Linked DNA regions of Homo sapiens: all the other regions are linked to region 1. Evidence: promoter capture Hi-C in 16 types of primary human blood cells and fetal thymus (Javierre and others, 2016). All regions are on one chromosome and are shown on one strand. Each heading gives the region's core, a stretch centred on a gene start or on the middle of the fragment in contact. The rest is flanking DNA. Distances are from core to core; before and after follow the strand shown.

The links. The method cuts DNA at HindIII sites, captures the fragments that hold promoters and counts their contacts. A CHiCAGO score of 5 or more calls a contact.
Region 2: a contact is called between a fragment that was not itself captured here and the fragment with the promoter of TMBIM1 in region 1, in 1 of 17 cell types (total B cells). The highest score is 5.6, in total B cells.
Region 3: a fragment that was not itself captured here is called in contact with the fragment with the promoter of TMBIM1 in region 1 in 7 of 17 cell types (naive B cells, activated CD4 T cells, total B cells and 4 more); the score reaches 7.9 in naive B cells.
Region 4: a fragment that was not itself captured here is called in contact with the fragment with the promoter of TMBIM1 in region 1 in 1 of 17 cell types (naive CD8 T cells); the score reaches 6.7 in naive CD8 T cells.
Region 5: the fragment with the promoter of PLCD4 here is called in contact with the fragment with the promoter of TMBIM1 in region 1 in 1 of 17 cell types (activated CD4 T cells); the score reaches 5.7 in activated CD4 T cells.

What each region holds. Positions count from the first base shown.
Region 1 is chr2:218,291,093-218,293,792 of GRCh38, forward strand. It overlaps TMBIM1 (transmembrane BAX inhibitor motif containing 1), which reads right to left and starts at 1,411. Exons shown (of 12, transcript NM_022152.6): 1 at 1,374-1,411. The region is part of intron 2 of PNKD (PNKD metallo-beta-lactamase domain containing); the gene reads left to right. RefSeq lists enhancers at 1-943, 944-1,906, 2,089-2,700 and a silencer at 1,189-1,668. The HindIII fragment of the contact is 24,107 bases long and covers 1-2,700 here.
Region 2 is chr2:218,589,169-218,591,868 of GRCh38, forward strand. The region is part of intron 5 of CNOT9 (CCR4-NOT transcription complex subunit 9); the gene reads left to right. It also overlaps the pseudogene RNU6-136P. Among named protein-coding and RNA genes, the nearest start is that of PLCD4, 17 kb to the right of the region's middle. The HindIII fragment of the contact is 1,538 bases long and covers 650-2,187 here.
Region 3 is chr2:218,673,547-218,676,246 of GRCh38, forward strand. It overlaps STK36 (serine/threonine kinase 36), which reads left to right. Exons shown (of 27, transcript NM_015690.5): 3 at 79-219; 4 at 333-410; 5 at 1,797-1,927; 6 at 2,483-2,700. Among named protein-coding and RNA genes, the nearest start is that of STK36, 2.8 kb to the left of the region's middle. The HindIII fragment of the contact is 1,348 bases long and covers 604-1,951 here.
Region 4 is chr2:218,637,135-218,639,834 of GRCh38, forward strand. It overlaps ZNF142 (zinc finger protein 142), which reads right to left. Exons shown (of 11, transcript NM_001379659.1): 11 at 1-1,674. The coding sequence ends at 1,205. It overlaps PLCD4 (phospholipase C delta 4), which reads left to right. Exons shown (of 16, transcript NM_032726.4): 16 at 1-41. Among named protein-coding and RNA genes, the nearest start is that of ZNF142, 21 kb to the right of the region's middle. The HindIII fragment of the contact is 3,761 bases long and covers 1-2,700 here.
Region 5 is chr2:218,606,569-218,609,268 of GRCh38, forward strand. PLCD4 (phospholipase C delta 4) reads left to right here and starts at 1,331. Exons shown (of 16, transcript NM_032726.4): 1 at 1,331-1,502. The HindIII fragment of the contact is 12,670 bases long and covers 1-1,821 here.

The DNA of each region.
Region 1 (2,700 bases), core at 161-2,660:
GGGAGGAGGCTGAGCCCAGGTGGCTATTACCCCAGCTCATGACATGAGGCTCTCCCAACACTTACAGGATAACCCATCATTACCTCTCTGAAGGGCTCATTTTTACAAGTGAGGCCTTGAGGTCATAGCACAGAAAGACAGGGCCCCTGACACTGTGGTCCTGCCTCTTCCATTTAAGCTATAAACTGGTTCTCTGGATCCTCATGACTGGAGAGACAGAGAGAGGAGGCAGGTGAGAAGGAAGTATGGCTCCCCCTTTGCGCCAATAAAGCAGCCCCAGGAGGCACCTGGCTCCCCTGCCACCACTGGCCAGCCCAAAGTCGCCAGCTTGGAAACCAAAGCTCACTAATGAGATGAATATTTCAGAGCCCAGAGAACTGGACACCTGAGGGCCCTTCCATGACATCTGGCTCTGACCTGCGTTCCCAGGCCTACTTATCCCATGTCCAGGGTGCTCAGGTAGAACCCCAAACTCCTGGGTACCACGTAGAGGCCACAGAGGAGGGAGAGGAGATGGAGACCCCATAGGACAAGAATTGGTGCCGACCCCACAAGGCCAGGGCCTGGCCTCCCAGCAGCCTCCCTCTGCTTCCTCCCACTGGTCCCTGGCTCCTGCCCCAGTCTCTCCACTTGCTTTCCCTTTTCCCGTTTCTCTGTTTTGTTTTCACTCTAACCCAAAGAAGTCACGAGGAGGATGTTACTCCCCTGTAGTTCTGTGAACCCAGCCGGGAAACAGTGGCTGGAAGTGGGACTGGCAGAGGGCAAAGTCATGGTGATAGAGGTGGCCACTTCCCCATGCCAAACACTTGAGCTGCTCATTGGCTTCTGCCCCAGCTGCAAGCTAGGACCCCCCCTTCCCCACCCCTTAAATATTCACCTGTCTACACCGAGACTGGCCTCAGCGCGTGTGGGGGCAACCTGGGGTCCGTGCCAGGCCCTGGCTGTCTCCCCTCCCTCTTCCCTCTTCTCACCAGCTGAGGGCCATGAAAGCCCTCATCCCACACAGCTGGCCACTCGGGCTGGCATGGTGGATAGGCCCTGCGACAGAGAGGCCACTCGTGCCCGAAAGAGGGAACACGAGGACACCCCCAGACCCTGGCTCCGCTCACCAGTGCCCACAACACGCTGCTGGGCTCCCAAGGCTAACCAGGTGCCACAGACCCGGCCGCCCACCCGCGCGCCCAGGGAGAGCGAAACGCCAAGGGCCAGGAGGGGAGATCCCCATCTGGAACGGGCTCCTTGGGCCCAGGAGCGGGCAAGCCGGGAGCGCGCTCCGAAAAGTTTAGGCGCCCCGGCGCATGGCCGCCCCAGCCCTGGACCAGTCCCCACCGCCCACAGTCCCCAACGGCGCCGGCCCCGGCCCCCTGGCTTGCCTGCGCCGTTCCAGACGGAGCGTTCCTGGCCTCGGAGTGTTGCAAGTCCTCCGGGGCCGGGCAGGGCTAGGCTCGGCTGGGGCTCCGCGCCCCGCCCCGTCGCGCCGGCCTCGTGGGGCGGGGCCTCAGGGCGCCGCCAGGGGGCGCAGGGGTCTGTCCCGGGCGCGCGCGCCTCTCAGAGCCCCGACGACGCCTCACTAATAACACAGGGGTATTTTCGGATTTAAAGGCAATACATGATACTGATAGGAAGCTAGAAAAGACACAGAAATGCAGGGAAGAAAGTAATTTCTCTCCACCCCTCCTAGTTCCCAGGGGGAAGCGTTCGCTTTGGGTCCTTCTTTGGCTATTACATTTCTGTATGTATTTTGTTTTTCTACAGTGGGGTATATTGTATGGTGTTTTGTTTACTGCCCTTCTTTTTACTGTTTTATGATGAACATTTTTCTTCTCACTAAATAGTCTTCAAAAGCACAATCTTAATGCCGTGAAGTATTCCATTGCATGGCTATGCGGATTAAATTAATTTCCTACTGGAGGCCGTTTGTTTCCCATTTTTACATTACAAATAAATCAGTAATTAAAATCCTTGATAATTCTGTGTTTTTGAGATAAATGCACTTTTCGAGTTTAAAACTGCAAACATGCAAACCTAGAATCTCTGTTTATAATTACTCAACCAGGAAAGCAGGTGCTTTCCTCAAGTCAGAATTCAGAAGTCCTACATTGAGATGTAGATTACTACTGTTAGGTAGGTCTTAACCCTCATCTCAGTGAAGAATGCAGTAGCAAAGGAGGAAACAGTTTTGAGGAAGTTCTGAAATATTACTGGAGCCTGGGCATGGTGACTCACACCTGCGATCCTAGCACTTTTGGGAGGCCAAGGCCAGAGGATGGCTTGAGCCCAGGAGTTGGAGACCCAGCCTAGGCAACATAGAGAGACCTTGTCTCAATTTAAAAAGAGAAACATTACCGAGCCTTGCCTGAGTTTCTGTGGTTCCAAAGTCCAAGTTCTTTCCATGACACCAAGGCTGCCAGTAGTTGACCAACTCTGTTTAAAGTGCTTATCTCATGTTAATAGCTATAGGTCAGCACCACACCACCACTGAATGTCCTTTTTTTTTTTTTTTTTTTTTTCCAGACAGGGTCTCGCTCTGTCACCCAGGCTGGAGTGCAGTGGCGCCATCTCGGCTCACTGCATCCTCCTCCTGGTTTCAAGTGATTCTCCGGCCTCAGCCTCCTGAGTAGCTGGGATTACAAGTGTGTGCCACTACACCCAGCTAATTTTGTTTGTTTGCTTGTTTGTTTTGTTTGGTTTGTTTGTTTT
Region 2 (2,700 bases), core at 169-2,668, 300 kb after region 1:
TGTAAGCAGGTATAATGATTTTTTTGGCTTTTTACTTTTAAATATATATATATGGAATGCTTCATGAATTTGTGTATTATCTTCGCACAGGGGCCACACTAATCTTCTCTGTGTTGTTCCAATTTTAGTACATGTGCTGTCTAAGTGAGCACTGGTTTTTTAATTTTTAATTAAATTATTTATTTATTTAGAGACAGGATCTCTGTCTGTCACCCAGGCTGGAGTAGAGAGGCATGGCTCACTGCCGCCTCGACCTCCTAGGTTCAGTTGATCCTCCCACCTCAGCTTCACAAGTAGCTGGGACCACATGCCTGCTCCACCACACTCAGCTAATTATTTTTATTTTTTGTAAAGACAAGGTCTCCCTATGTTGCCTGGGCTACTCTTGAACTCCTGGGCTCAAAGGATCTTCCTGCCTTCTGCCGTAGTACTAGGAGTACAAGCATGAGCCACTGTGCCTGACCAATTTATTGTTTTTAAAGAGACAAGGTTTCACTATGTTGCCCAGGCTGGAATGCAGTGGCTATTCACAGCCATGATAATGGCACACTATAGCCTTGAACTCCGGGGCTCAAGCAGTCTTCCCACTTCCCTCTCTGGAGTAGGTAGCTTTGATACTGGCACACATCCCTATACCTGGCTATTTTTAAGCTTTTTATTTTAAATATTCAATATATGGATGACTGTCAAAGGCATTGTTGAGCAAAAGAAGCCAGACACATGGGAATTCATACTGTATGTTGATTATGTGAAGTTTAAGAACAAGCAAAGCCAATTACTGGCAATAAGTTGGATTCGTGGTTAGCTCTGAGGAAAGAACATTGACTGGGGAAAGGTACAAGGGAATGCTGGAATCCTGAGTTGGTAGAAATATTGCTTTTTTCTGTTTTTTTTTTTGTTGTTGTTGTTTTTTGTTTTTGAGACAGTCTCACTCTGTCACCCAGGCTGGAGTGAAGTGGAGTGATCTCGGCTCATTGCAACCTCTGCCTCCTGGGTTCAAGCAATTCTCATGCCTCAGCCTCCTGAGTAGTTGGAACTACAGGCACACACCATCATACCCAGCTAATTTTTTGTATTTTTAGTAGAGATGGAGTTTCGCCATGTAGCCCATGCTAGTCTTGAACTCCTAAGCTCAGGCAATCTGCCTGCCTCCACCTCCCAAATATTCTGTATTTTATACAATATTTTGTATTTTAATCTGGTTATAGTACATAATGTGTACATAGGTAAAAATTCAAGGTACACTTAAGATTAGTGCACTTAACACACTTCACTGTGTGTAAGTTTATATTAGGTTCCTATATAACCTGCTGCTATAACAAATTACCACAAGCTAGAAGGGTAGTGGCTTAAAACAATGGAAGTTTACTGTTTTATAGTTTTGGAAGTCACAAGTTCTAAATGAGTTTCACCAATCTAAAGTCAATGTATCAGGAGGGTCATGCTTTCTCTGGAGGATATAGAGGAGAGTCTTTTTGTTGCCTTTTCTAGCTTCTAGAACTGCATTTCTTGCATTCCCTGGATTATGGCCCCCTCCCTCTTCAGATCCAGCGATGTGGCATGTTCAAATCTCTTTCTGCTTGTCACATTGCTTTCTCCTTTGTGGTAAAATCTCTCCCTACATCTCTCTTGTTGTTGTTGTTGTTGTTGTTGTTTTGTTTGTTTGTTTGTTTTAAGAGATGGGGTTTTCTCTGTCGCCCAGGCTGGAGTGCAGTGGCATGATCATAACTCACTGCATCCTTGAACTCCTGGCCTCAAGCAGTCCTCCCACCTTGGCCTCCCAGAGTGCTGAGATTACCAGCATGGGTCACTTTGCCTGGCCTTCTCTACATCGCTTTTAAGGACACTTCGTTATTACATTTAAGGCCTACTTGGATAAACAGGGATAATCCCCCATCTCAAGATCCTTAACTTAATCACGTCTGCAAAGTCCCATTTTTCATTTAAGGTAACATTTGCAGAGTTTGGTGATTAGGGCCTGGATATCTTTGAGAGCCATTATTCAGCCTACTACAGTGTTATAACCCCAATAAAATAGTAAAATAATTCCACAGTTCATTTTGATGAGCAGCCAAGAAAGAGTATCATTATCGTGATTGTCTAATTTAAATTAAACTAATATTTTAATATCTCTTTTATGTAAGAGCTAATGAGCTCAAGTTGAGGGAAAAATTGAGGCCACATATAAGCTTCACAGCCAGGATATGTTTTATTACTGTTAGATAATCTTCAAAGAGAAGCGTGAAAATCTTATTTCTTCAAGATCTTTTAAGAACAAAAAAGGCCTTATCTCAGCCGAGTGCAGTGGCTCACGCTTGTAATCCCAGCACTTTGGTAGGCCAAGGCAGGTGGATCACGAGGTCAGGGAATTCAAGCCCAGCCTAGCCAAGACGGTGAAACCCCGTCTCTACTAAAAATACCAAAATTAGCCAGGCATGGTGGCAGGAGCCTGTAATCCTAGCTACTCGGGAGGCTGAGGCAGGAGAATCAGTTGAACCAGGGTGGCAGAGGTTGCAGTGAGCTGAAATGGAGCCACTGCACTCCAGTCTGGGCGACAGAGTGAGACTCCATCTAAAAAAAAAAAAAGAAAAGAAAAAAGAAAGAAAGGCCTTACTTCATCTGGAAGAGAGGAGGCATAGCTGAATAAATCATCTTGGCCTATGGAAAAGAGAAGAGCCTTAGATATTCAAATGAGGCTTG
Region 3 (2,700 bases), core at 28-2,527, 380 kb after region 1:
GCTCTGAGATTAAGGCTGAAATTCTAGATCTTTTCAGTAGTGTGATTAGGCGTTAACTTTTCACCTTACCACTGACAGGTCGTGGCCCTGAAGTTCATCCCAAAATTGGGGCGCTCAGAGAAGGAGCTGAGGAATTTGCAACGAGAGATTGAAATAATGCGGGGTCTGCGGCATCCCAACATTGTGCATATGCTTGACAGCTTTGAAACTGATAAAGAGGTGTGCTTTGACAGTTTTGGGCCCTGTCTCCCCAAGCACAAGGGTTCCAGGAATTTCCCAACCTCAGAATGCATGAATCTGGAGCCATCAGTGCCACTGCCTTCTCTCTGTAGGTGGTGGTGGTGACAGACTATGCTGAGGGAGAGCTCTTTCAGATCCTAGAAGATGACGGAAAACTTCCTGAAGACCAGGTATGCTTTCTGCCTTCAACTTCTCCCCACCTCCGACCTCTCTCCAGGTTAGAGAACTGGTAGAGCAAGCTAAGGACACTGAGAGTCTCCATTTCAAAGACTTCTGAGAAGAATATAAGAGTCTAGGTATATAGAGGCAGTGTAGTGTGGGAGTAAATTATGTAAACGTTGGAGTCAAAATATCTGAGCAGGAAGCTTGGCTCTGCTCCTTCCTAGCTGGGTCTCATTGGACAAGTTACTTTAATTTCTTTGTGCTTAGTTTCCTAATTTGTAAAATGGAGATAATAATCATGTTTGCCTGATAAGTCTATGATGAAGAGTGTTAAGTCATGTAATGTGTTTGAATAGTTAGCTATTATTAACATTATTGTTATTAGATACCTTTAGGGAAGAAGGGCCAGTGTAATGGTACCAGAAAGAGGGCAGTAAGAATAAAGGTTGTGGGGAGTCAGGATTTGGCACCAGGACGTAGTGGTTAGCAGTGGGATTTTGTTGCACATATCCTCCAGCCACATTTATTCTAGGCGTTTGTCTGTACCCAAGCAAGTAGGCCCCCCCTGGGATTCATTATTGCAGCATTCTCTTTCCTTCTGAGCACTCACCACTATTTGTAAGTAATCATATTTTTGAAATTATTTTATTTTTAATTGAATTTTATTTTTTGAGACAGAGTCTCGCTTTGTTGCCCAGGCTGGAGTGCAGTGGCACAATCTTGGCTCACAGCAAACTCCGCCTTCCAGGTTCAAGCAATTCTCGTGCCTCAGCCTCCCCAGTAACCAGGATTATAGCATGCGCCACCATGCCTAGCTAATTTTGTACTTTTAGTAGAGATGGGGTTTCACCATGCTGGCCAGGCTGGTCTCGAACTGCTGGCCTCAGGTGATCTGCCCGCCTCAGCCTCCCAAAGTGCTGGTATTACAGGTGTGAGCCACCACGCCCGACCACCATATTTGTTTTATCTGTCTTGTTTGTTTGTCTGACTACTTTTCTTGAAAAAAGGCATTTTGTCTTATTTAATAACAGGTAATGTGTATTGAATATTTACTATGTGCCAGGCACCATTCTGAGTATTATTTTGCATGCTTTAACTCAGTCCTCACAATAATCCTCCATGTAGATGGTGTTATTATATAGATTGTCACCTTAGTTTGCCCATGGTCAAGCAGATAGTAAATGAGATTCAATAAATTTTTCTTGAATGAATGAATGAGCAAATGAAAGAGTGATTAAACAAGGGGAACAATAACTAAGAAAGAATAGTGTGAAGCTCTGCAAGAAAGGGAAGGAAGAAAAGATTAGCAGTAATATTAAGAGAAATTTTTGGGCTTGTCAGCCAGCTGCTGTTTCTAACCTTTTTTTTCTTTCTTCCACCTCTTTAATTTCTAGGTTCAGGCCATTGCTGCCCAGTTGGTGTCAGCCCTGTACTATCTGCATTCCCACCGCATCCTACACCGAGATATGAAGCCTCAGAACATCCTCCTCGCCAAGGGTGGTGGCATCAAGCTCTGTGACTTTGGGTAAAGATTCTGAGCATCCATCTAAGCTTCCAGTTCCACACGGAATCTTTTTTTTTTTTTTTTTTTTTGAGATGGAGTTTCACTCTTGTTACCCAGGCTGAAGTGCAATGGTGCGATCTCCACTCACCACAACCTCTGCCTCCCGGATTCAAGCAATTCTACTGCCTCAGCCTCCAGAGTAGCTGGGATTACAGGCATGTGCCACCATGCCTGGCTAATTTTATATTTTTAGTAGAGATGGGGTTTCTCCATGTTGGTCAGGCTGGTCTCGAACTCCTGACCTCAGGTGATCTGCCCACCTCGGCCTCCCAAAGTGCTGGGATTACAGGCATGAGCCACTGAGCCTGGCCCCACAGGGAATCTTAGACCATACTCTTGACTTATTTGGGCCTCATTTTAGAACCGGAGCTAGAGGCTGGGACTGCTGCTGGGTCTTCTGGAACCTAATCAAAGGTGCTCCCTCTGCTCCGGTTTGGGATATCTCTATGTTAGGTAGTAGTGACCAGGTTTAGAATATCTTTTCCCTTTCCATTTCCATCCCATTATCTTCTGCAGATTTGCCCGGGCTATGAGCACCAATACAATGGTGCTGACATCCATCAAAGGCACACCACTCTATATGTCTCCAGAGCTGGTGGAGGAGCGACCATACGACCACACAGCGGACCTCTGGTCTGTTGGCTGCATACTATATGAACTGGCAGTAGGCACCCCTCCCTTCTATGCTACAAGCATCTTTCAGCTGGTCAGCCTCATTCTCAAGGACCCTGTGC
Region 4 (2,700 bases), core at 171-2,670, 350 kb after region 1:
TTCCTCCTTAGCCCCACTGGTATAAATACATCTCTCTCCAATTTGGCTTCAATATGGTCTGTCATTGTTGGGCAAGAAGGGGAGGTACAAGGGTTGTGGGGACATCTGGGTAGTCAGGTGAGACAAGGAAAAGGTAGAGAAAGAGGTTCCCAGGAGACCTCTTGCATGTGCTACATAGGAAGGACACAGAGTATGGCTTTTAAGAATCAGGGCAAAAGCAGACAAAAGGTTATGTGGTCCCAGCCTTCCTGAAGAGTCTGGCTGGAACCATCCTGGTTTATGTCTGTTGTCCCAGCATAATTATTAATAGTACCCTCTTTAAGTTTTCCCAGTGTGTCTCAGTTTAGATGATCAATTATATAGTAAGGCACTACAGAATTATACTGTGAAGCAGTTATAGAATTCTGAATTGGAGATTTTCCTCTCTAGTCATCTGCCTTTCCATAGTATCCTTGTGCTTTAACACCTTAGTGTAGCTGCTGAGCCAGTCTGAGGATTGATGATGAGCTAAAGTTGCTTCTAGGAGGAGGCTTAGTGGGTAGCAATCCTCCCTCTATAGATACAGGTAGACAAAGGAGCTTGGAAGTAGGGAGCAGGTCAAGGGTCAAGATGGCTCAAGGACAGGGAGAAGGCAGACCTAGGCCTGTTTCAGTATCAATACTGAGTGAAGATGGAAGGGACAAAAGGGAGGCAGAGGTCTGAGAGGGGACAGAGTTGATCAAGATGACAGCCTGGAAATGTTAAGACAGGGATTTGGATGAATCTATAATGTAGTAACCACTTTCTGTTTAACATGCTTTATAGAGCATTAGGCACAACAGCACATGCGGTTAGATACAACTGTTTTTAGAAGATTCTGAAAGAAAATAGGAATTGACACAGTAAGAAGGAAAGAGAAGATGGAGTGGGTAAAATCCAGATCTTATAGCCAGGGACTTTGATGGAGTGATGGTGAAGAAACTGAGAACTTGCAGGTTAAAAACGCAATGTACAGCAATAAGAAATCAACGTTATAGTCCATGTCCCTCTTTTATATGGGTGATAATTTCAAAGTACTATAGCCAGAGTCCCAGGAAGGTTCTAGTCACCCTTGTACCCCAAAAGCCAGTCTTTCCTTAGGCTCTGAGCTCCTCAGGCTAGCGCTGGTCCCAGTCTGCACATCTCAGACCATACCCTCTTCCTATACAGGAGGTGGGGCAGGCTTTCAGCCCTCAGGTCCAGTGTGGGGAGCGGCAGGAGCAGGAGGGCTGGGATCCTCCAGCTGCACATCATGCAGGTGCACTGTGGGGGTGGTGGGGTCTTTGCCCACACCCTGGTTTGGGTCGGCTTGGTCAGGGTGGTGCCTGCGTACGTGCTTGACCACCTGGAACTTTTGCTTGGCCTTGTAGTTGCAGAGGCGGCAAAAGAAGGGGTGGCGGTCGGTGTGGGTGAGGGCATGATGGCGCAGGCCAGCAGCCCAGCGGAAAGCACGGTGGCACACATTGCACACATAGGGTTTGGCCTCACTGTGCTTGCGAAGGTGGGTGCGCAGCAGGAAGCGCGTCTTGAAGGCCTTGCCACACTGCTCACACATGAAAGCCCGTGCTTCTCGATGCCGGGTCTCCTGGTGCACACGCAGTGCATCAGCCCGGTTGGTGCAGTACTCACACTCGGGACACTGGTATGGCTTCAGTCCTACAGGACAGGGAACAAATCACCATTGAAAGGCGGTGGAGCAAGGTTTACTGGGCCATGGAGTTACTGCAATCAGTGGATATAAAGAATGCAAGCAGCAAGTTGACTAATGACCATCTCTTTGGAATGCTCCAGTCCTCCAGTCCTGTCTGACATTTCTTTTTTCTTTTATTTTTCTTTGAGACGGAGTTTCGCTCTTGTTGCCCAGGCTGGAGTGCAATGGTGCAATCTCGGCTCACTACAACCTCCGCCTCCCAGGTTCAAGTGATCCTCCTGCCTCAGTTTCCCAAGTAGCTGGAATAACAGGCATGGGCCACCACACCTGGCTAATTTTGTATTTTTAGTGAAGACAGGGTTTCACCATGTTGGCCAGGCTGGTCTTGAACTCTGGACCTCCAGTGATGTGCCCTCCTTGGCCTCCCAAAGTGCTGGGATTACAGGCATGAGCCACCGCGCCTGGCCCTGTCTGACATTTCTGTGCCTTTCCAACACAGCGTCCTTGTACATCAACAAGAACTCAATGTTGTAGTCCCAGCAATCAATGTTGTGGGTGCCCAATGGATGCTGATGATTAACGGGACCTCTAACCAACTAGCTACCTGACAGTAATGAATACTCAAATATGGAAGGGTTTCCCCATGGGAAATTATAACCCTCTTTTGGTCACAGAGTACTCATGGAATTCGACAATTCATTTAAACACAACGGCTTGTTCAACTCAAAAAGTCAAAGACCCAGCCTGGGCAACAAAGTGAGACCCTGTCTACAAAAAAATTAGGTGGGCGTGGTGGCGTGCACTTGTAGACCCAGCTAATTGGGAGGCTAAGGCAAGAAGATGATGTGCACCCAGGAGTTTGAGATTGTAGTGAGCTATGACTGCACCACTGCACTCCAGCATGGGCAGCAGAGCAAGACCCTGTCACTGAAAAAAAAAAAAAAAAAAAGTAAAAGAAATACTTAGGAGGGGCCGAGCATGGTGGCTCATGCCTGTAATCCCAGCACTTTGGGAGGCCGAGGCGGGCGGAT
Region 5 (2,700 bases), core at 81-2,580, 320 kb after region 1:
TCCCAGCTACTCAGGAGGCTGAGACAGGAGAATTGCTTGAACCCGGGAGGTAGAGGTTGCAGTAAGCCAAGATCACGCCATTGCACTCCAGCCTGGGCAACAGCGAGACTCTTATCTCAAAAAAAAAAAAAAAAAAAAAAAAAAATATATATATATATATATATACACACACACACATATACATATACATATATGTATATTTAAAATCATTAAGCCTTCAAAAGTTAACACAGATATATGATATTTTAAATGAGACCTAAAAAAATAAATTTAAAAACACATATAGAAAATATATCAAGAGAATGTATAGCTTAATAAATTATTAAGTGAAGACCCTTGTTAGCACTTAGAACTAGAAATAGAGTTTAGCTAGCTATGCCAGAAGCCCCCTCTGTGTCCCATCTCACCACAATTCCTCCCCCTCCCAACAGTAACCACTATCCTGACTTTTATAGTAATCACTTAGGAGGATTTTATTTTAATGGGACTAAAAAATGTAGCTATAATCACTAATGGTAAAATATTAGGCAGTTGAGGGATGCTTGTGGAAACCATGATAGGCAGCCAGACGTCAGCACACTTAAAATTACACCATTTCACACAGTTCCCCTCTGAGCCTATGCTTCATCTCTGCACACATCTTTATAAACATGCATGTATGTCCTGAAGGTGCTACCTCCATTCTGAGGGCTATGACTTATAACCCAGAGGTGCTGAACAGATGCTTGTAGGAGGAACGAATGGATGTTTAAAAAAAAATGAGCTGTTTCACACGTTCATCTATGCATTCTTTCAATATTTAATGAGTGCCTAAAATATACATAGATTCTAACCTATCTGTCCCTCTACATTCTATCATCATTCCTGTCCTCCCCTTCTCCTCGTCTTCCTCTTTTCCCATCTTATTTCTTTCTTTTCCTGTGGGACGGAGCTACAGTGAGTGCCCTGCAGGCAGGATTCAGAGATACAGGAGCAGGCCAGTGGAAACAGACACTATGGAAAGGAGCCAGATTAAATAAGGGCAAAAACAGCCGTATTACATGCAGGAACCAGAATGAAAAGCAGTGATTCACAGAGCACTGCAACTGAGGACACTCCCTTCACTTTGAGAGCTACTGCGGGATTGGGGTCAATGAGGGCTGGCATCAAGATGAAGGGCAGCCAGGCTCCTCCCTGGAGATGTGCTGCCCTTAATCCTTCTCTCCCCACCCCACCCCCACTACTCCCTCACATTGACCAGTGTCCTGGGCCTTTAAGAGTTGGATGGGCTGGACTGGAGAGAGCTCACACCTCTCCCCTTCTTACTGCTTCCCTCCGGCTATAACTTGCCAGTCACAGCAGCCAGCTGCTGTAGAAGAGGGGAGGAAACAAGCCAGTGCAAGGGGAGCAAAAGAGAAAAGGAGCCAGGCTGGGCTTCCTGATCCCACAGCATCGCAGAGCTCGGGAGGCACAGCTCACAGACACAGGAAACACAGGACTGCTATTCTGCTCTCCTGCCCACGGTAAGGATCTGGAAGCTCTGACTACCCTCTGCTCTAAGCTCTGTCTTCCCTGAGTCCCTACCTCTGCCCTCTAGATGCTTATCCACCCTGATTAAATTGTACCCTAGACTCCTTTCCTCATCCCAACAGCTCTACAGGGCTCCCACCTCCTGGTTCTCTCTAGCTTATCCTCCTTTATCCTTACAGCTTTCCTCCTGGCTGTGTCAGTCGCCCTTTATATGAGGTACCTCTTAGCTTATGCAGGGCCAGAAGTGCCAACCCTAGCCACTCCTGAGGTGAACTCCACCCCCAATAAGGGAAGAAAAAATTGGAGTAGCTAAGCTTTAGCATAGATTCATTAACAGTTTGTTGAGGGTTGCAAAATAGGGGTTGGCCAAGAACCATGGGGAATCAGAGATCCCTGGTAATAGAGAGAGTTATGAAAGTCCCTTAGAAAGTTCTCTAAAGAACTTGTTCTTTGCCTATTCCATGGGCCAGAGCAGTTTCTTAGTGCACCAGAGTGCTACGTTGGTAAGAAAACCTACTTCTAGTTCTGCCTGTGCCATTAACTAGCTACGGGACCTGGAGCCACAACTTCCAGATCTGTGATACGAGAGAGTTTAGGGTTTCCCAGACTTGCCTGTGTACCAAGTGTACTTGTTAAAAATAAATATATTATTGAGCCCCACCCTGGGTAACTCTGATCTGGTAGATTTTTGGGTAGGGCTAAGGATCTCAATTTCAAGACATTCCAGAGGCTATTGATGTAGCTGGGAATGTCTGGATTAGATGTGTTATAAAAGAACTGGCCGGGCGCGGTGGCTCACACCTGTAATCCCAGCACTTTGGGAGGCCGAGGCGGGTGGATCACGAGGTCAGGAGATTGAGACCATCCTGGCTAACATGGTGAAACCCCGTCTCTACTGAAAATACAAAAAATTAGCCGGGCGAGGTGGGTGGCGGGTGCCTGTAGTCCCAGCTACTCGGGAGGCTGAGGCAGGAGAATAGCGTGAACCCCGGGGGGCGGAGCCTGCAGTGAGCCAAGATCGCACCACTGCACTCCAGCCTGGGCGACAGCGAGACTCTGTCTCAAAAAAAAAAAAAAAAAGAACCTTCAAGCTCCAACATTCTGTGACCTGTGACCAGAGCCAATTTGTCCTCTATATGAACCAGGTTAGGCATAATCCTTCTCAGAAGCAAGGGAGTAGACAAAATGATT